Linked DNA regions of Homo sapiens: all the other regions are linked to region 5. The links are contacts of gene promoters, found by promoter capture Hi-C in blood cells and fetal thymus (Javierre and others, 2016). All regions are on one chromosome and are shown on one strand. Each heading gives the region's core, a stretch centred on a gene start or on the middle of the fragment in contact. The rest is flanking DNA. Distances are from core to core; before and after follow the strand shown.

The links. The method cuts DNA at HindIII sites, captures the fragments that hold promoters and counts their contacts. A CHiCAGO score of 5 or more calls a contact.
Region 1: a fragment that was not itself captured here is called in contact with the fragment with the promoter of BTG1 in region 5 in 1 of 17 cell types (M2 macrophages); the score reaches 5.1 in M2 macrophages.
Region 2: a contact is called between a fragment that was not itself captured here and the fragment with the promoter of BTG1 in region 5, in 1 of 17 cell types (activated CD4 T cells). The highest score is 5.1, in activated CD4 T cells.
Region 3: a fragment that was not itself captured here is called in contact with the fragment with the promoter of BTG1 in region 5 in 11 of 17 cell types (total B cells, naive B cells, non-activated CD4 T cells and 8 more); the score reaches 18.1 in total B cells.
Region 4: a contact is called between a fragment that was not itself captured here and the fragment with the promoter of BTG1 in region 5, in 1 of 17 cell types (activated CD4 T cells). The highest score is 5.5, in activated CD4 T cells.
Region 6: a contact is called between a fragment that was not itself captured here and the fragment with the promoter of BTG1 in region 5, in 1 of 17 cell types (naive CD8 T cells). The highest score is 5.2, in naive CD8 T cells.
Region 7: a fragment that was not itself captured here is called in contact with the fragment with the promoter of BTG1 in region 5 in 2 of 17 cell types (M0 macrophages and activated CD4 T cells); the score reaches 6.8 in M0 macrophages.

The regions. Positions count from the first base shown.
Region 1 is chr12:92,524,329-92,527,028 of GRCh38, reverse strand. No RefSeq gene overlaps it. Among named protein-coding and RNA genes, the nearest start is that of LINC02397, 59 kb to the right of the region's middle. The HindIII fragment of the contact is 1,100 bases long and covers 857-1,956 here.
Region 2 is chr12:92,626,520-92,629,219 of GRCh38, reverse strand. The region is part of intron 1 of LOC105369905 (a long non-coding RNA gene); the gene reads right to left. All of the region lies in intron 1 of LOC124902983 (a long non-coding RNA gene), which reads left to right. Among named protein-coding and RNA genes, the nearest start is that of PLEKHG7, 75 kb to the left of the region's middle. The HindIII fragment of the contact is 2,759 bases long and covers 1-2,651 here.
Region 3 is chr12:92,579,805-92,582,504 of GRCh38, reverse strand. All of the region lies in intron 1 of LOC105369905 (a long non-coding RNA gene), which reads right to left. Among named protein-coding and RNA genes, the nearest start is that of LINC02397, 110 kb to the right of the region's middle. The HindIII fragment of the contact is 3,147 bases long and covers 1-2,700 here.
Region 4 is chr12:91,758,167-91,760,866 of GRCh38, reverse strand. No RefSeq gene overlaps it. Among named protein-coding and RNA genes, the nearest start is that of LINC02404, 120 kb to the left of the region's middle. The HindIII fragment of the contact is 536 bases long and covers 996-1,531 here.
Region 5 is chr12:92,144,533-92,147,232 of GRCh38, reverse strand. It overlaps BTG1 (BTG anti-proliferation factor 1), which reads left to right and starts at 1,387. Exons shown (of 2, transcript NM_001731.3): 1 at 1,387-1,845. The coding sequence starts at 1,698. It overlaps BTG1-DT (BTG1 divergent transcript), which reads right to left and starts at 1,148. Exons shown (of 3, transcript NR_135036.1): 1 at 990-1,148; 2 at 471-571. RefSeq lists enhancers at 736-1,035, 1,870-2,406, 2,366-2,415, 2,676-2,700 and a silencer at 1,626-1,945. The HindIII fragment of the contact is 11,880 bases long and covers 329-2,700 here.
Region 6 is chr12:91,684,578-91,687,277 of GRCh38, reverse strand. No RefSeq gene overlaps it. Among named protein-coding and RNA genes, the nearest start is that of LINC02404, 190 kb to the left of the region's middle. The HindIII fragment of the contact is 4,269 bases long and covers 1-2,700 here.
Region 7 is chr12:92,601,559-92,604,258 of GRCh38, reverse strand. The region is part of intron 1 of LOC105369905 (a long non-coding RNA gene); the gene reads right to left. The region is part of intron 1 of LOC124902983 (a long non-coding RNA gene); the gene reads left to right. Among named protein-coding and RNA genes, the nearest start is that of PLEKHG7, 100 kb to the left of the region's middle. The HindIII fragment of the contact is 4,997 bases long and covers 1-2,700 here.

The DNA.
Region 1 (2,700 bases), core at 157-2,656, 380 kb before region 5:
ATTACACACCTTATACACATAACCTGAAGGTAATTTCATACAATATTTTTTGATACTATTATGCACAAAACAAAGTTTTGACATGAGGTTAGATGTGGAATTTTCTACTTGTGGCATCATGTTGACCCTCAAACAGCTTCAGATTTTGGAGCATTTCAGATTTCGAATTTTCAGATTAGGGATGCTCAACCTGAACTCAGCTTTCTGTTAGAAAGCGCAGCCAGCAAAGAGCTGCAGATCATCCAGGCATACTTGGTACTGGTCAGGCCCTTAGTAGAGTAATGTGATCAATATGGGAATCCACCCTTTAAAATGCACATGCAGAAATTAAAGTGGGTTTCCTAGGGAGCACTACAAAAATAATTATGAAGAAAATCAAACCAGTGGGGGAAAATTAAGGAGATTATATTTATTTAGTCTAGAGAGGAAAAAGCTAAATCATGAATAAATAAATAGTTACCTTTAAGTATATATGTATGTGAAAAAAGATTATCCTAAGGAAAGCTAAATTATTCTATCTCTATGATAGACAATAAACTAAGAGGGATATGGTTAAATTGCACTAAGAGACTCTAATTAACTTTAGGTCTTGCAAAACTCCAGGGAAGACTAACAAAGAAACAAAGGAATCCCTGTCTTTGTATATCTTTCTGAGCAATTTAGACAACTGCCTATCTTGTGGCTTCATTATAGAATAGCAGGTGGCTGGGCCCTTGATTACAATTATAGGTTTACAGAATCTTAGAGCTGAAAAATAGCCTCAGTAGATTAAAGTTTCTCTTTTATATGTTTGTAGATTTCCATTGCCACCCACTCACCAATAGCATATACAAAGGAAAGTATAAGATGTGAAGCTTTGCAGGTTAGAGTTCTATCATAGTTAAGTGACTGGAGCTTTTAAAAGTGTCTGCTCAAATAATGCGAACAGATCTTGGTTGTATGGCATGAAAAAACAAACTAGGGCAGTAAACTAGGGCAGAACAGTGTAGTATTGTTGTTCTTCAGTTGCTTTTTTCAGGTTACAGATGAAAACTAGTCTTTTATCCCAAGAAAAATGTGTATGAGTACGTGCAACCATTCACGATACCCAGATGCCCAAATTTAGTGATCAAGGTGGAGTCAGTGTGGTAGAGTTCTTAAGAGCTCTGCAGTTGGATTTCTTATATTTATATCTACACTGAAATCCTCCCTTTTCTACTTACTAGCCTGTGGTCTTAAGAATGTTAGTTAAATTCTCCAAGTCTGTTTACTCATTTCTAAAATGGGGATAGCTTATCTTATGCATGAGATTTTTCTTGGTGAAAATCAAGTGACAAGATAAAAATTTAAAGAAATTAAGAAGTAAATGACCTGACATAGCAGAGGCTACACAAAAGTGTTTTTCCAATTGCAAGTTGTGATCCAGTGCAGGAGTTTGGTAGTAAAAATTGATCCAATAGGTCATAATTGATGTTAAAAACTGAAATAGAATAGAAAATATTCATTGCACTTAGTAATCATAAATATTGCTTGGGATAATGTTTTCTGTATGATATGTTTGTTTGTATGAGAGAGTTGTGTAACACTTGTGTACTTGGAAGCAATATAAAATATTTCTGGCTGGGCATAATGGGTCATGTGTATAATGCCAACATTTTGGGAGGCCAAGGCGGGAGAGTTGCTTGAGGCCAGGAGTTCAAGACCAGCCTGGGCAGTGTAATGAGACCCTGTCCCTACAGAACAATTAAAAATCAGCTGAGCAAGCACGATGGCTTATGCCTCCAGTGCCAGCTACTAGGAGAGGTTGTGGCGGGAGGATTTCTTGAGCCCTGGAGTCCAAGGCTACAGTGATCTATGATCACATCACCTAAGTCCAGCCTGGGTGACAGAGCAAGACTCTGTCTCCAATCAATCAATCAAACAATAACTAACTAAATAAATAAAATATTTCTTGAGGATCATGGTAAAAAAAAAGCTTATAGTTATTACAGTTTATTATTTTCGTGTTTTTTGTCCTAACCCTTTGTTTTATTTCCCTAGTGGTTGCTGTAGGATCATAATATACATTCCACCCCTCCACTGTCTAGTCTGAAGTAACATAACACTACCTCACAAAAAAGGCAACAATCCTACAATATGCCTCCAACCATCTTCTCTGGCCTTGGGTGCCATGATCTGCATACATTTTACTTCTGCATACATTTTCCTGTTTCTACCAAATTTTGTCATCACTTTTGCTTTTAGCAGTTCACTTGCACCAAATAAGTTGAGAAAAAAGAAAAAGAAAACATTCACATTTACGATCTCCGGTGTCATCAGTGTTTCTTCTAGATCTGATCCTTTATCTTCCACCATCTTTGCACAATCTAAAGTCCCCGTTTAACATCCTCTGTAGTATGGGTCTTCTGGCAATAAACTATCTCAGCCTTGATAATCAGAGAACATCTCTGTCTCATCCCCACAAATAAAGGGCAGCTTTTCTGGTTATAAAACTCCAGATTGACAATTTCCCTTCTTCAGCACGTCAAAGCTGTTGCTCCATTGCAGTCTGGCTTACTTTGCTTTTGATGAAAAGTCAGTGAACCTCCCCATGGTTGTTCCCTCTATGTAACATCACCTGTTCTCTCGTTGAACCTAAGATTTTATCTTTATACTGGGTTTTCAGCAGTTTGACCATAGTGTGCTTCATTGTTGTTTGGCTTTTGTTCATTCTGCTTGATT
Region 2 (2,700 bases), core at 23-2,522, 480 kb before region 5:
ATTGCTCTATTTTATTATTAGTTGTTATTGTTAATCTCTTACTGTACCTAATTTGTAAATTAACTTCATCACAGGTATGTATGTACAGAAAAAAAAAACCTAGTATATATAGGGTTCACTACTATTTGTGGTTTTAGACTCCACTGGGGGTCTTGGTACGTATCCCCTGTGAGTAACAGGGGACTACTCTATTTGAAAAACTCTTGTAGATGTATGAGCATGTGTATATTCTAAGGACTCAGAGAGAAGGGAGGCCCAATCTACTATTTTACCAAACAAAAGAGGGAAGAAATAATTGAATTTATTTCTGTTTATTAATAATTTTCTTCCTGAATTTTACTTTTTATATTTTTTAAATTTATTTTTACCTAAAGCAATCAAATCAGGAATGGTTTTGTAACCTCTAATCTTTTCACCTAATATGTAATGTGTATATAGAATTTAAAAGTATAGAGTATGTCACTTAAAAAAAATCCTTACTTTTGCAAATTAATGAGGCATTGCACCAGTGATTCATGCAAGTAAAAACAAAACAGGGAGTTGTGGGATTCATGGTCAAGAGTCAGGAATGATTTAGCCGTTGAATATATATTGGGGTTTCCCAGCTTTGCTACCTTTATACTGAGAAACTGAGCTTCCACTTAGCTGAACCTAATCACTGCTAGAGATTTTTCTTTCTATAAAATTCTCTAAATGCTTATTTGGTCTCTTGTGCCAAATTTCTGAATTAAAAAGCGTAGTAACTTCACTTATAACGTCTATGATTTCTGAGCAAATTATTCTTGTCTTTCTAACTCATTCAATGCAGATTTGTCCATCTGAGAAGGTCATGAGAAATGCGTACCTTCTTTAGAAGTCACCTTAGATATAGTGGTTTCTGTGACAAAGTCTCAGAGAGACAAAGTATATTGCCCAGTGGTTACCAGCACTGTCAACAGGTGGACATGTTTATTTGTACAGTAATTTTCTTTATATATACTTTTTTTCCCCGAAAGAAAGCATTCTGTTAGCACACCAGATCTAAATGTGGATACTCTGTATGTGTCTCATTATGGTTTTGTGGACAAAGGAACTAAAAACAATGGTAGTTTAATAACAAAGTAGCTTTGTTTCCTCTAGCAGTGTCAGAAATGTAGACTCTTTCTCTCAGGGGAAAAAAAAGGTACTAACTGTGTGGTTCTAATGTACTAGCAAAAATGTGTCTAGTGCGGAACGTTTTAACTGGTAAAAATGGAGTAGATTTATACACAGCAATCCAGGGTGCTTAATGCTGTTAAAAATATTTAGATTTAATAGTCCATAGATATTAAGTTAGAAAGGTTTTAATGACCAATATCCATAGAAGAGAGATATTGGCTTGCATAGTAGACTACTCTGTTTTGAACATGAGGCATTTCCCAGGATTTTGCAAATTTCTATCTTTAGGTGTTCTAGATTGGAGTAGTAACCTCAAAGGTGGCCACGGTAGGCAGCCCTCTGTGGCCTGTGAAATTCTCTTGCACAATCCTGCACTGGGACTGGCAAATCAACATTTCTAGCATTTTGACCATAACATAGCTTTTACAATAGTATCTACCTAGTGTCTGTAGCATGAGTAGTGAAGATAAGCATGCCATCTTCCTTTCATTGAATACTTACTCTGTTAGGTATGACTCGAAGTGCTTCAGCCATGTTATCTCATTTAACTCTCTGAGTTGATATGATTATTATTCCCATTTTACAGACAAGAAACTAAGGTCCAGAAAGTTTAAGTGACAGCTGGTATGTGTTGTGGAGCAGATTCTAATCAGAGGGTCTCTGGCTGTGGGGTCTCTTTTCTAAACTGCCACACATATTGTTCCTCAAAGATCTAATTGATAGTTACCTAAGTTACCTAATTATTAGCAGTACAGAAGGATGGCAGCTGGTGTTTCAGCCCTAGCTCTCCAGCCTATTTCCTAGGTGACCTTGGGCATGTTATTTATTCTTTGGCGTTGGTTTCCTTATCAGTCAAATATGGAGAGTTTAACTAGATGGTTTTTAAGATTCCCTTTGTCATCATATTGGGTGAGTCTGTGATTAATATGACTTATTAATTTGGGTGGTCTCGATAATTTGCGAATAGCAGTGGCTGTTGTGATCCCTTTTACAGACCTACATTTTATAAAGGACAAGGACAGTTGTTTCACAATAGCACAGGGTAACGCAGTATAAGAGCAAGCACCGTGCACTAGTCATCTGGTGACTTTCTGGAAGGAGGTCAGAATATCTAGGTAGTACCAGTTCATCTGGGCTGCTATTAATACAACAAAATGCCATAGACTGGGTGGCTATGGCATAAAAGTTTATGTCTCACAGTTCTGGAGGCTGGGAAGTCCAAGATCAAAGTGCTGGCAGATTTGAGGTCTAGTGAGGGCCCATTTCATGATTCATAAACAGCATCTTCTTGCTGAATCCACATGTGGTGGAAGAGGAGAACTCTGGTCTCTTTACAGTCTGATAAAAGCACTAATCCCATTCATGAGGTCTCCACCCTCATGACTTTATCACCTCCCAATACTATCTACCTCCTAATACTATCACACTAGGGATTGGGTTTCAGCATAGGAATTTTGAGGGGACACAAACATTCAGACTATAGCAGGTTTAACCACATCCCAGCTACATAAGCTTTATCAGACTACACGACAGTTCTGAGCTTTGCTTTTTTTCAGCTGAAAC
Region 3 (2,700 bases), core at 167-2,666, 440 kb before region 5:
ACTGGACAAATGTTTCTGTTTTCAGTGGAGAAGAAACACTGCTCATTGCTTAGCTAGGGGAGCAGCGGATGAAGCTGTTGAATTTATAGTAGATCTCAGAGTGGTTCAAATCATAGATCCTGAGTGATTCCTCCTCAGCTACTCCAAGTGGTACCATTTGGGGGCTGTTGGGGAATTAGCAGTTGAATTCCTTGAGAAAGTCCTCCTCCCCTGTATGAACTCCAGATAATGCAAGACTGTTACACAGTTATAACAAAGGAGTTAAGTCCTTGTCCATCTATCAACCAACCAATCCACCAACAAGCATATCTTTAGGACCTGCTTGAATGCAAGGTACTGTGTTGAGTTCCAAAAACACAAAGGGGCATTGGTTACAATCCTTGCTTTAGAGGTGGACAAATTGATTAAGGAAAATCTCTCTCTCTCTCAAGGGTGAGGTTTTGCTTAATGCATTTGGAGGTTGGAGGAGGATTTAAGAAAGGGAGAGATCACTGTGAACTGAAGTGCCTGGAGAAGACTTTCTTTGGGAAAATAAAATTTAAACCTAATGTGAAAGACTAACTGATACATTGAGGTTGTGTGAACCCAGATGGATAAAATCACACAGTCATAAACAGAGCTATTCTTAGATGTACAACAGTTGTTTCAGAAACTAAAACACCCTATGCCTTGAAAAGATCACATTTTTAGCCCACAGAATTCACCATGCCATTTGTGTTTATTTGCTGTATCCTCCAGAGACCTCAGTAAGCTGAGGGAAAAGGGGGAGGGACTAACATGCTGTAGCCACCTACATTGTACGATTTGCTTTACATACATGATCTAATTTAGTTCTTACACAGTCCTGTGAGCCATGCATTATTGCTCCTATTTATAAATGAGGAAATTGAGGCTCAGAGAGGTTAAATGTGTGGCCGGGTCTCATAGTTGTGCAATGGCTGAGCCCTCTGTGTTACTTACATACTGTCTGTCACTCACTTGATTTTTAAAGTTCTTGAGAGTAGAAAATTCAATATCAATGTTGTTTCCCAAAAACAAATATTTTAAATACTGCTTGTTAGATAAGAACATTGTCCGTAATTACAAAAAATTGATTAAAATGACACAAAGAAAAAAACAGTAAAGAGAAATCAAATGAGATAATTGATGTGTGTATCCTTTTGGGACATATCTGTGATAAGATCTGTCACATGGCACAGGAAGAACAAGATCTGTGTGCGTGTGTGGTACTGGGGGTTATAATCTTTTTAATTTCGTGTACCCTGCACATTTTAGATACTTACTAACAGGGTCAATGTCTGATACATTAGGATTTGGTTACAAAATGATGAAGAATATTGAGATTCCTCTCAGGCTCTCAAGGTGACAGATGTTCTATTGCTAAAGTATTGCTTTGGGGAAACCAAAATAGACCCACCGCACCTAAAATAATGTGCCAAAAATATAAGGAAAAAAATAGAAAATGGAGACTCACAGCAAGAGAGAACATTATATTTGAGTGATGGTTTTCAAATTTTCCTCTGTGGGTCATACTCTTGTCTGACCCATCTATTCTTCCGTGGTCCTCATCTTGTAGAGTCCAGGCGTCTTAATGCTCTTGGCCACCCAACCTCTGCTGTCCTGCATGAAAGGAGTCATGGAGGTTCCTACACACCATCTCCTGTAGGTGTGTAGTGGCCACCATTGGGCAGTGGCCTGGAAAGGCAGCAGGCTAGGGAATGTGATGCTGCCACTTGGATAGGCAGTTTTTGGCATACTGTAACTTTGCCTTGTGTCCTTTAGCTATTCTTGGAGATTTTCCAGAAGAATAAACAATCCCTTAAAGTCCCATTCCCTCCATGACTCCTGGCTGGAAACATCACCTAGACCTATATGACCTGCTTTTGCATTTTGGGTTTATACATGGACCAGTTAAAATGAACATCCCTGGGACCTGCCACCAGGGCTAGAAGGCTTTCCCCTTCCACCTGACAAGGTTAAGACAACTGATCGTATAGTCCAAACACTGCCTGCTTGGCTTATAGAGGATGGATTACAATTTTACTTATGGATTTATTCCTATAATCGTTAAATTAAGCGATTGATAAAGAATAATGGAAATTACACAATTAATAGAAATTAAATAGAAATTAAATGATTTCTCTTATTAAATTGTAAGATTCTTTAGGGAAATGTTAGTACCTTTTTTCCCTTACAACTGTACCCTCAGTGTCTATAAACACAGCGCTACCTTGTAGCAGACCTCAATAAATATTTGCTGAATGGTTTCATTTATATATGTGTGTGTGTGTGTTTGTATGTATGTGTGTGTATGCAGGGAAAGTCATTGTAGGAAGAGGGACAAATAAACAGAATGAACAAGTGAACAGAATCATAGGAGTTGGCCAGGTGCAGTGGCTCATGCCTGTAATCCCAGCACTTTGGGAGGCCGAGGCGGACGGATCACGAGGTCAGGAGATCGAGACCATCCTGGCTAACACGGTGAAACCCCGTCTCTACTAAAAATACAAAAAATTAGCCAGATGTGGTGGCACGCGCCTGTAGTCCCAGCTACTCAGGAGGCTGAGGCGGGAGAATCACTTGAACCCGGAAGGTGAATGTTGTAGTGAGCTAAGATCACGCCACTGTACTCCAGCCTGGGCAACAGAGCGAGACTCCATCTCAAAAAAAAAAAAAAAAAAAAATCATAGGTGTGATTTA
Region 4 (2,700 bases), core at 14-2,513, 390 kb after region 5:
CTGCCCCTCTGACCTCTGAGTTCTTCTTACCATTAAAGTGTAGCACATGTTTGCAGTTGAGTAGCTCTATCAGTCCATTTCCTGACTGTAAAATTTTGGAAGTCTGATAGTCTTCTTTCACTTTGTGAAATCCCTTTTAGTTTAAGTTGGCAGTGTTTCTGCTTATATAATTTTCTCAACAACATTGTCGGTCTCCCACATATACCATAAGGTTTCACACCATTAGACAAGAGGATCCTCTACAGGTCTTTCCTAGATAACTCCATTTCTGTTTCTGGCTTCTGCTGAGATGGTTGAGGGGACCCCAAGAGTCACACACTTAATTTCTTCAGCAAAAATCTTTCAGCCTCGTCTTTTCCTTGTCTTCAGAGCACAGTTTCTCTAACAGTGAATAACATTAGCACGTTTTGGAATCTGAATAGATGTGATTTTTTTGAATCATCAAGTGCTGGTTTCTTTGTGCTTAATGGTCTCTTCTTCAATTTATCTTTTTCTTCTCACATTTTATTCTAAATGGCAACAAGAAATCAGGTCACACCTTCAAAGTTTTGTTTGAAAGTATTTTCAGCTAAATATATAAGCATGTAAGTTGTAAACAATGGCTTACAACTTCTGCTTTCCAAGCAACATTAAGACACAACTTAGACAAGATATGCCACTATATAATAAAGATTACCTTTCCTCCAGTTTTCAACATGTTCATAATTTGTTTCTGAGCACCTGTCTTTAATATTCATGTCTATACCATGAACACTGTGCTCATGGGAATATATGTATTCTCTAAGATAATAACAGTTTTCTCTACTATATTCTTCATTTCCTTTGAGCCTTCTCCAAAATCTAGGCTTTTTCTACCATACCCCTCAAAATTCTTCCAGCCTCTACCCATTGCTCAATTCCAAAGCCACTTCCAGATTGTTAGATACTTGTTTCATTACAGTTGTACTTCCTGGTACCAAAATCATTGCTCTCCTTTTTTTCTGTATATATAAGCTTCTAACTGGGGATTGTTTTTCTTTTGTCTTTTGGTATTTCCTCTAGTGTGGAACTAATGATTAATTATTTTAGCTTTTATTTCTATGAAAGTGTTCTATTTTACCTTTACTTATAAAATATGAATATTTACCAGATACAGAATTCCAGATTGGTGTTTTCCCCCAGTACTTTGAAGATCTCATTCCATTGACTTCTGGTTTTTATTTTATTGATCCTATGGAAGAGTTACATTCCTGGCACTCTCTGCCTGCTTTTAAGATGTTCTCTTTGTCTTTGGTTTTTAGCAGTATGACTATAGTGTGTCTAAATGTGTCATTCCTTATGATTATTTCACTTGAGATTTATATCCCTTCTTGAAATTGTGACTTGATATCTTTTGTTGATTGGGGAAAAATCTTGACCACTACATTTTTCTAAACTTCCTTTGTTCCAATATCTCTCTTTACTCTTTTTTGGGAGTTTAATATGTGTGTTAGATCATTTGACTGTTGCTACAATTTGAATGTTATTGTACCCTCCAAAAATTTATGAAGCTTAGTTTCCAATTTAATAGTATTGAGAGGTATAATCCTTGGAGGTGATTGAGTTTTAAGGCTCTGCCCATGAATGGGATTAGGTGCCCTTATAAAGGAGCTTGATGGAGGGAGTTTGTTCCTTTTGGCCCTTAACCTTCTGCCTTGCAAGGACACAGTGTTCTCCCTTCTGGAGGACACAGTGTTCAAGATGCCATCTTGGAAGCAGATTGGACCCTCACCAGACACCAGATGTTGGCACCTTGATCTTGGACTTACTAGTCTCCAGAACTGTGAGAAATAAATTTCCGGGTAGTTACAAATTACCTAGTCTCTGGTATTTTGTTATAGCAGCTTAAACAGACTAAGAAAATAATATATTCTATATATTTTTTTCTCTTTTCTTCATTTTTAATCTAATCTTTTTGCTTTGGTTTGTGTACTTTTAACACACACATTAAAGTTGTAATTTGGTTACTGTGTTAATCAGTTACAAAATTTCTATTTGCTTTTTAAAAATGGCTTACATTTCTCTGATGAATTTTTTTACCTTGTCTTGTATTTCTTGAACACATATTAACCATAATTATGTAATTCCATGTTTGATAACTACAGTTGTGGATATCTTATGGGTGTGTTTTTACTGCTGGTTTTCTCTCGGTTTGCCACATAAACACACACACAGAAACTAAGTGTGTGGGTGCCCGTGTGTGTGCAGCCAGAAATAATGTTTGAAAAATTATAGTGGCAGATTGAAGTCTTGAATGATGCTATCGTTCTGTAAAAATAATTTGTTTTCTTCATCTGGTAATTTAGCTTGAGAAAGATCAGATTATTCCATTCGAGATTAAGCTGATTCAAATTAGTTTTCAGTATTTGTGAAGACTTGGTCTGTCCAGGTTCACCATTATTCATGGGCATAGTCCTTCAGAGACCCCAACGGAAACCCAGAGTTTTATGCCAGCGTCCTTACTCCTTGGCACATATTAAACTTCAACTGCCATTACCCTAATCTCTTAAGACATTTGAAAGTCCTGCTCAGATTTTTAGATTCTTGTTTATCATATTAGAACTTACAAATTTTTTATGGTGAAAAGCAGAGCTAAATATTATATTTACTTCTTTTTGTTTCCATTCTCTCTGAGTTCTTGATTGCTCAAGTTCTTACTGCCTTGGTAGCTGTCTTATACCT
Region 5 (2,700 bases), core at 138-2,637:
TTAGCTCAGTATTAAAAAGAAAAAAAAAACACTCAAAGTGGTGTGTTTTGCAATATTGATGATCAACTAAGGTCGGGATATTTATTTCCATCTGGTAGAGTTCAACTTCTGCCTCCTGTTTGCTTTCTCCATCTGCCTGCCTCCCTTCATCTTTCTTTTTTTCTTTTCCCCCTTCTCCTTAATGGAGTTGGGGTTAACCCTGTCTTAGGCCTAATCGTTTTAGCAGGCTCCCGCCTTCCTGTTACACTGGTTTTTAAGGTTGTTTTTTTTTTTTTTTGGTAGGGTTTCAAATAAACTTGAATGTCTACACTTAATACTTTCACAAGCTTCAAATTCTTTTTATTTTATTTTTATAAAGAGCAGGACTCAGGCTAGGACGGCATTTGGACTAGGTAAAAAAGAAAATCTTCAGTTTTGTGCACACAAGTTTTAAAATACATTGTACAGATTTTTTTTTTTTGGATACACACCACTCTTTACAGGATCCGCGTTATATCTGCTTTCAGTAACTGGCTCTCCTGTCCGCATCCAGTAAGGTTTCCACTCTTCTCTCCGTTGACTGCTGAAGTTACTGAAACAGCAACCACAAATGGCCTTACTAACCTACTTATTTTGCAATTAAACTTTTAAAAGATATCCCCCTACTCCTCCCCTAGGGTGGAACAGAAATGGCTCCGCGGCGTTGGCAGCTCGTCTGCGAGGGGACCCTGGCTCCCCGAGGCTGCAGTCCTTTTTCTTGGACAGAACGCCCCGCAGGACCGTTCCCTCCACTTTCCCCCGCACTAAGGCAGCGCACCGCCAGCACACACAGCGCTGGCGCCCGCATCGCGCCGCACCACACGCGTCTCCGGCTTGAGGAGCCAGTCACCGAGACCCGGAGCGGGAACGAGATGTAAACACGGAGTGGGGACATGCAGCCCGATCTGAGAAGGCGGCGTGAAGAGTAGACACAGCCTGCGCCAGGCGGTTCTTATTTACCCAGCACTTACACTCCAGGGCAAGCGGGCCCAGGCAGCGCACTCTTGGAGAAGGATGCACTGGCGCAGAGCCTGGACCTGCTGAAGCGGGAAGGAGGAGCTAGGGCTGGGGGCGGAGCTTTCACACGCGCACCCTCTGTTCCCTCCCTCCCTCCCTCGACACAAGCAACTGGGTCTCCAGCCGCCACTCCGGGTTTATTTGTTTACAAGCGGATTACGTCAGCTCCTCCCTCTCTTCCCTATCTCTGGACCCGCCTCCTGAACTCTTTTCCCGCCCCTTTCGGCTCCGAACCGGCTTGCGTCACAATGGTGCGATATTCGGATTGGCTGGAGTCGGCCATCACGCTCCAGCTACGCCACTTCCTTTTCGTGGCACTATAAAGGGTGCTGCACGGCGCTTGCATCTCTTCGCCTCTCGGAGCTGGAAATGCAGCTATTGAGATCTTCGAATGCTGCGGAGCTGGAGGCGGAGGCAGCTGGGGAGGTCCGAGCGATGTGACCAGGCCGCCATCGCTCGTCTCTTCCTCTCTCCTGCCGCCTCCTGTCTCGAAAATAACTTTTTTAGTCTAAAGAAAGAAAGACAAAAGTAGTCGTCCGCCCCTCACGCCCTCTCTTCCTCTCAGCCTTCCGCCCGGTGAGGAAGCCCGGGGTGGCTGCTCCGCCGTCGGGGCCGCGCCGCCGAGCCCCAGCCGCCCCGGGCCGCCCCCGCACGCCGCCCCCATGCATCCCTTCTACACCCGGGCCGCCACCATGATAGGCGAGATCGCCGCCGCCGTGTCCTTCATCTCCAAGTTTCTCCGCACCAAGGGGCTCACGAGCGAGCGACAGCTGCAGACCTTCAGCCAGAGCCTGCAGGAGCTGCTGGCAGGTGAGCAGGGCGAGGGCGTCGGAGGGACGCGGGCCCCACATCCCTGGGTCAGAGTCCGGCCGTCGGGGCTGCGGGAACCTCGGCAGCGCCCCGGGGCCGGTCGCGCTTGGGCCCCGCCGCGGGACCGGTGTGGTTGCGCTGGGTGGCCGCTAACAGCGGTTCCCCGCGAGGCTTTAGGGGCTGGACGGAGGGCGCCCCCTTCCCCCCAGCTGGCAAAACGGAGAGGAGAAGACAACACGCACAACAAAGAAACTTAAGCCCACCGAGGCGGGAGCTGCGGTCCGAGGACCGTCGGCGGATTTGGGGACAAAGGAGCCGTGGGGCTGGGGTGGGTTCGACGTCCCCTTTCCTCAGCCCCCTCCAACCGTTGCGTGGTCGGCGGCCCAGCCCCGGGGTGGGAAGCTGCGCCGCTGCCCCGGAGCCAGCTCAGAACGGACGTGCCGTCTCCCCGCGCCTCCTGCCCCTGCCCATTAATCATCGGATTTGTCACCGGCACAATTAACAGCCCTGCCCAGAGCGTGGTTTAGGGTTGCTTGTTTTTCTTCCCTTCGGGGTTAACAGTCCGGTGGCGCTTCTCATCTCCAAAGCCATCAACTCCATTGTGTGCATCTGGGGTGGGGTGGAGAAAGTAAACAGTTTCTCGCCTGGCCATAGGTGCCAGTGGCTTCCCGACTGGCCGAGGCTGCGCGCCTGATTCCTGTTTTGGCGGCTCAACCGGTTGGTTCCTGGAGATTGTTTTGTCCGGTACTACTGTGTTATTTCTAAAACCCTGCCCGCTTTTTCCATCCCCGCACATGCACAACAACGGATGCAATCCTGGACATTTTAAAAAGTTGATAGTTTTCATTTTCGCTC
Region 6 (2,700 bases), core at 72-2,571, 460 kb after region 5:
CTTTGTCCTATGTATCTACCCTGTGTACACTACTGGCCAGACACTCACTCAGGAGCCATCTCATTATCAGATTGACAAATCACAACAAGAAGAAGGGTAAGTACAGTAGAATAAGGTATTTGAGAGAGAGAGACAGACAAACCACATTCATATAACCTTTATTACATTATATTGTTATAATTGTTCTATGTTATTAGTTACTGTTAATATCTTATTGTGCCTAACTCATAAGTTAAAATTTATCCTAGGTATGTATGTATAGAAAAAAAATAGTACATAGAATATATTGGGTTTGGTATCCACTGGGGGTCTTGGAACATTACCCTGTGGATAATTGGAGACTACTATAATCCAAAATACTGTTTTCTCTTGTTTTAACTTTTTTTCTTACCTCTCAGATTGTTGCATTTCAGTTTACTCCAGGGACTCTGTCTCCTATGCTTGCCTGGTTAGAGGTGAGGGGAGGCATATGTTTTGAGTCAAACAGCACATGGCTCCGTAACACTGGCTCCTCTCCTCTGCCTTCTGTGTTGTCTAGTATACTCCCTCTGTTCCCATTTTCCCTGCAATTCTGTAGCCAGGCTTGGAGATAGAAAGTGCTTAACTTATTACTTGGTGTATGCATAGTAAGTGCTTAATTAAAATCTGCTCATTATGGATGGATTTAAGTGATCTAACATACATATTTTAAATTTTTCTATAATTTGATTTTGCCATTAATTCTCAATAATGCTTCCCCATCTTTAAAACAATTCAATTTATTCAAATTGCAACTATCCATTAGTTATCCTATGTTGCTTCTTTCTTCTTTCTTCTATATTAAATTGGATTTGGATCAATAGCTCTTTATATATTTCATCAGAGTTCCAGTAAAGCCTTTTGATAATTTCTTATTTAATTAAAACATTAATATAATTATATAGAGGAGTTATACATAGATTAATATTGTAAAGTTAAAGATACTGCTGAGATGAGATGAAATGGACTCACATATTTGCTTTGGTTGGGCATTTAGTTAGTCTAAAAGGCACATTAGCAATAGAAATCACCATGTGGAGCGTTTGTAGATTTAGTTTTCATGTCAGAGACAGGATCTACCTTGAAAGCATTTGAAAAGATTGCTAAGGAGACCAAACAACAATGTCCCATGCCCTCTGACTCATGTAAAGTGATGATGAATACATAAAAGGAAACACATATACACACGCACACACACACACACAGAGAGAGAGAGAGAAGAGAGAGAGAAATAAGGTTTAGTAGAAAAATATAAAAGACTTAGATTCAAATTATACCTGCAGCACTGATAGCTCTCTGATAACTCACTTAACCTCTTTAAATGGGACCCTATAGGTTGGGAAGAATTTCACCTACCTATCTGTTTTTTAGTGCTGGAAAGTCATTTGTGATTAGTAACTTTTCTACATATGTAAAGGATTATTTAGATTACCATGCACCCAATAAATATGCATTATCTATGGCTAAATTGAAGTGAACCTCACAGGAAGCTCAATAGTCTTACCTAAAAGACAGTACCCTCAGGGAACATGCAGGTCAATCCTATGCTGCCTGAACAAAATTATTCTTACAATATTAACTATTACTTTATCTTTCCAAGTTTTACTTTGTTCATCTGTAAAAGTGGGACGTTAAGAGTAGGTACCTACCTCAAGGAAGAGTTGTAAGGATTAATTGAGACCATACAGGCAATACCTCAGAGATATTGGAAGTTGGATTCCAGAGCACCACAATAAAGCAAACGTCTCAATAAAGTGAGCCACACAAATGTTTTGTTTCCCCAGTGCATATAAAAGTTATGTATATTATGTCTTAAAAAGTGGTCATACCTTAAAAATATTTTATTGCTAAAAAATGCTGCGTCCTGAGAATTTTGTGTGTATGTATATACATATATAAAAAAACGGTGGTGATATATCATGGTGTATATATGTATGTGTGTGTGTGTGTGTGTGTGTGTGTGTGTGTGTGTGTATATATATATATATATATATATATATATATATATATATATATGGTAGCAAAGATATGGAATCAACCCAAGAGCCCATCAATGACAGATTGGATAAAGACATGAGAGATCTATCATATATATCATTATATACATTATATATATTATATATCACATTATATATATTATATATCACATTATATATCATTATATGCATTATATATAATATATTATATATATTACATAGCACATGATATATATTATATATATCTCACACATTTTCTTTATCCAATCTCCATATCTTTGCTATTTTAAATAATGCAGCAATGAACATACAAGTGCATGCGCCTTTTTGGTAGAATAATTTGTTTTCTTTTGGGGATATACCCAGTAATGGAATTGCTGGGTCAAATGGTAGCTCTGTCAAAAGTTCTTTCAGAAATCTCCAGACTGCTTTTCACAGTGACTGAACTAATTTGCACTCCCACAACAGGGTATAAGCATTCCCTTTTATCCACAACCTCACCAGCATCTATTGTTTTTTGACTTTTAATAATGGCCATTCTGACTGCTGTGAGATGTATCTCATTGCGGTTTTGATTTACATTTCTCTGATGATTAGTGATGCTGAGTATTATTTCATGTTTTTTGGCCACTTATATGACTTCTTTAGAGAAATGTCTATTCATGTCCTTTGCCCATTTTTAAAAGGGTTGTTTTTTGCTTGTTGA
Region 7 (2,700 bases), core at 190-2,689, 460 kb before region 5:
TGTCTGGTGACTCAGATGCTGAATCTACTTCTCATAAGTAAATGTTTCACTCAAATCAAAGAGAGTAGGCACTCCATCTCTGGCTCATGCTTCACTGTACTGAGAGTTTAAACTTCCATGCTGTCCTAGCCTGCTTGGAAAAACCAGAGTGCCCTGAACTTCCAGTGAATCAGCTCCTCTTGGGCCCTGATGTGTCCTCAGGATCTCATTAGATGGAGCCAACTCAGAATCTAAGCAGGTACCTATGAGTTGTCCCTAGTACTGAAAATCCAAATGTTGCTTGGCAGTCCAGTTCATGAAACCTCTAAGAAATGGAAGGTCAGAGGCTGCTGTTTTCCTGTGGAGACATGACTGGTTCAGCAATGGGGGCAGGTCTGGACAGGGTAGTGAGACCCATCAATAGACCATCCATGAGAAGGCCAGTAGGGGGTGCCATGGCTGCCTCCCACTGTTCCTTTCTAAGTTTAGATTTGCAGGGTGTGTGGGTGTGTGAGTCCATGCATGCACACACATTCAATTTATGCTTCTGTCAAAACCCCACATATTCAATAGTAAAAATAACAAAATAATACATATACAAAAATTATAATCAAAAACAATCCCCAGCCTCAGCTTACTCCATTCCATCTCCCTTTGCTCATTGACTCAGAAGTAACTGCACATCTTTCAATTTTTGTTCGAATATGTATTTTTTATTTCTCAGTAATGTGTTTCTACAAATATTTGAGTTTTTAATTTTAGATACTATCTATTGACTGTCTACAAATCTTTCAAATATAGCATATTTAATTAAATCCTTTTTAGTGTTTACCATGGCTCATAGCCGAGCCATCTAGCATACTCATGACATCATCATCTACAATTTTTTTCCCCTGATGTCAATACTGTCTCAGTTTTTTTCCATTGCTTTGCATTCTTTGATAGACATCTAATAATATGTAACATATATTTAGCAAGTATTTTAAGCAATTTATAGGTAAAATATTTTAAGCAATTTATAGGTAAATATAGGAAATTATAGGTAAAAGGTTAGGGAACAGAAGGTGGGACATGTTATGCCCCAGCTTAAAAGGGCAAAGTCCAAATTCCTGGCTATGCTACACAAGATCTAGCCCTTGGCTATTCCTACAACCTGACTCCTTATCTTTTCCTTCTCCATATTTTACATTCCAGCTTCTTGGACTTTTTTAGATGCTAGAATTTATAAGTCCTTTCTTATTCCTTGGCCCTTCACCAGCCTCCTGTTGTCTGAATCACTTTTCTACCCTCTTTATTTGTGTCTTACCCATCCTCTGGTGCCAATCTTCCCCAACTCCTAAAATATGTTCAATTGTCCTGCAATGTGCTCCTGTCACACTGTGTTCTTCTCACTCACCACTCTTTATGTTTATTACTTGCTGGACGATAAATTCAGTGAAGATGAGGTCTAGTTGGTCTTATTCCCTGAGAGAGCCCCAGTGTTTACCACATAATAGGCTCTTTATACATTTTAGTTGTTATATGATTGGGTCTGTAAGGAGAATGACGATGATGCAAATGTACATGAAAACATTCCAGTGACTCAGGCTGAAAAAATCCTATGTAAGGCAATAAATTGTTTTCTCACATGAAGTAATTCCCATTTCTTCTTTATAAATTGCCTAACCTTAAACTGGCTAAGACTTGTAACTATAGAACAATAGACAATGTGGCTTTATATATTGGGCAAACCTGAGTCAAAGAGTCAGTTTTTAGATTTTGCAAATGACCCAGGGCAGCTTTGAAACAGTTGATTAACATCTTGGAGTGTTGGCATGGTGGGCCCTGGTTTCTCTAACCTTCCATCTGCAGTACACACATGGGGACATAATGTGACAAAAGCAGTGGTCCTCTGACCAGAGAAATCAGAGATATCCATGAAGATTCTGCCCTCAGGGAGCTTCCAGTCTAGTAAGGAAAACAGACTATCAGTAGGTAAACACATACATAAGTATGTACTTGTAGATTGGAAAAAATGGTGTCAACTAGAGACCAAATGATGATGGATAATAAAGAGGAAGCCCTACATAAATGGTCAGGGAAGGAGGGAGATATGTTTGGCTCTGTGTCCCTACTCAAATTTTATCTCAAATTGCAATCCCCATGTGTCAAGAGAGGGAACTGGTGGTGAAGCGGCTATGCTGTCTGGGGTATAAACCTGGGGTTCATCATCACGTGCCAGGAAAATTTAGGACATGGACACACACGAGGAGTTTAGGAGTGAAGGTTTAATAGGTAGAAGAGAAGAGAAAGAGAAACAGCTTCCTCTACAGAGGAAGTGGTCTCTGAGCAGAGAGGACCAGCTGGTGGCAAAAGCACCAAGTTTTATAGTCCAGTTTGAGGACGTGGTGTCTGATTTACGTAGGGCTCACAGATTGGTAAGATCAGGTATTTCCTTTACATAGCGTGTGGGGAAGGCTGGTCACCCCACCCTAATCTTCTTATGCAAATGGGCTTTCTAGTTGATCAGCACCATCTTGTCTGCTTGTTATAATACACGTGGCTGACAGAGAAGGGAAGATGGAGCCACCATTTTGAAAATGTCTAGTCCTTAGTTTCTGCCGGCATTCATCCATGCAAGCTCCCAGCTTGCAGGCTGCTCTTTGTTAGAAAATGATTTGGGGCTGCTTTTCATTAACAAAAAAAAAAAAAAGCCTTATCAAGGACTCCCATGCCCTTGCT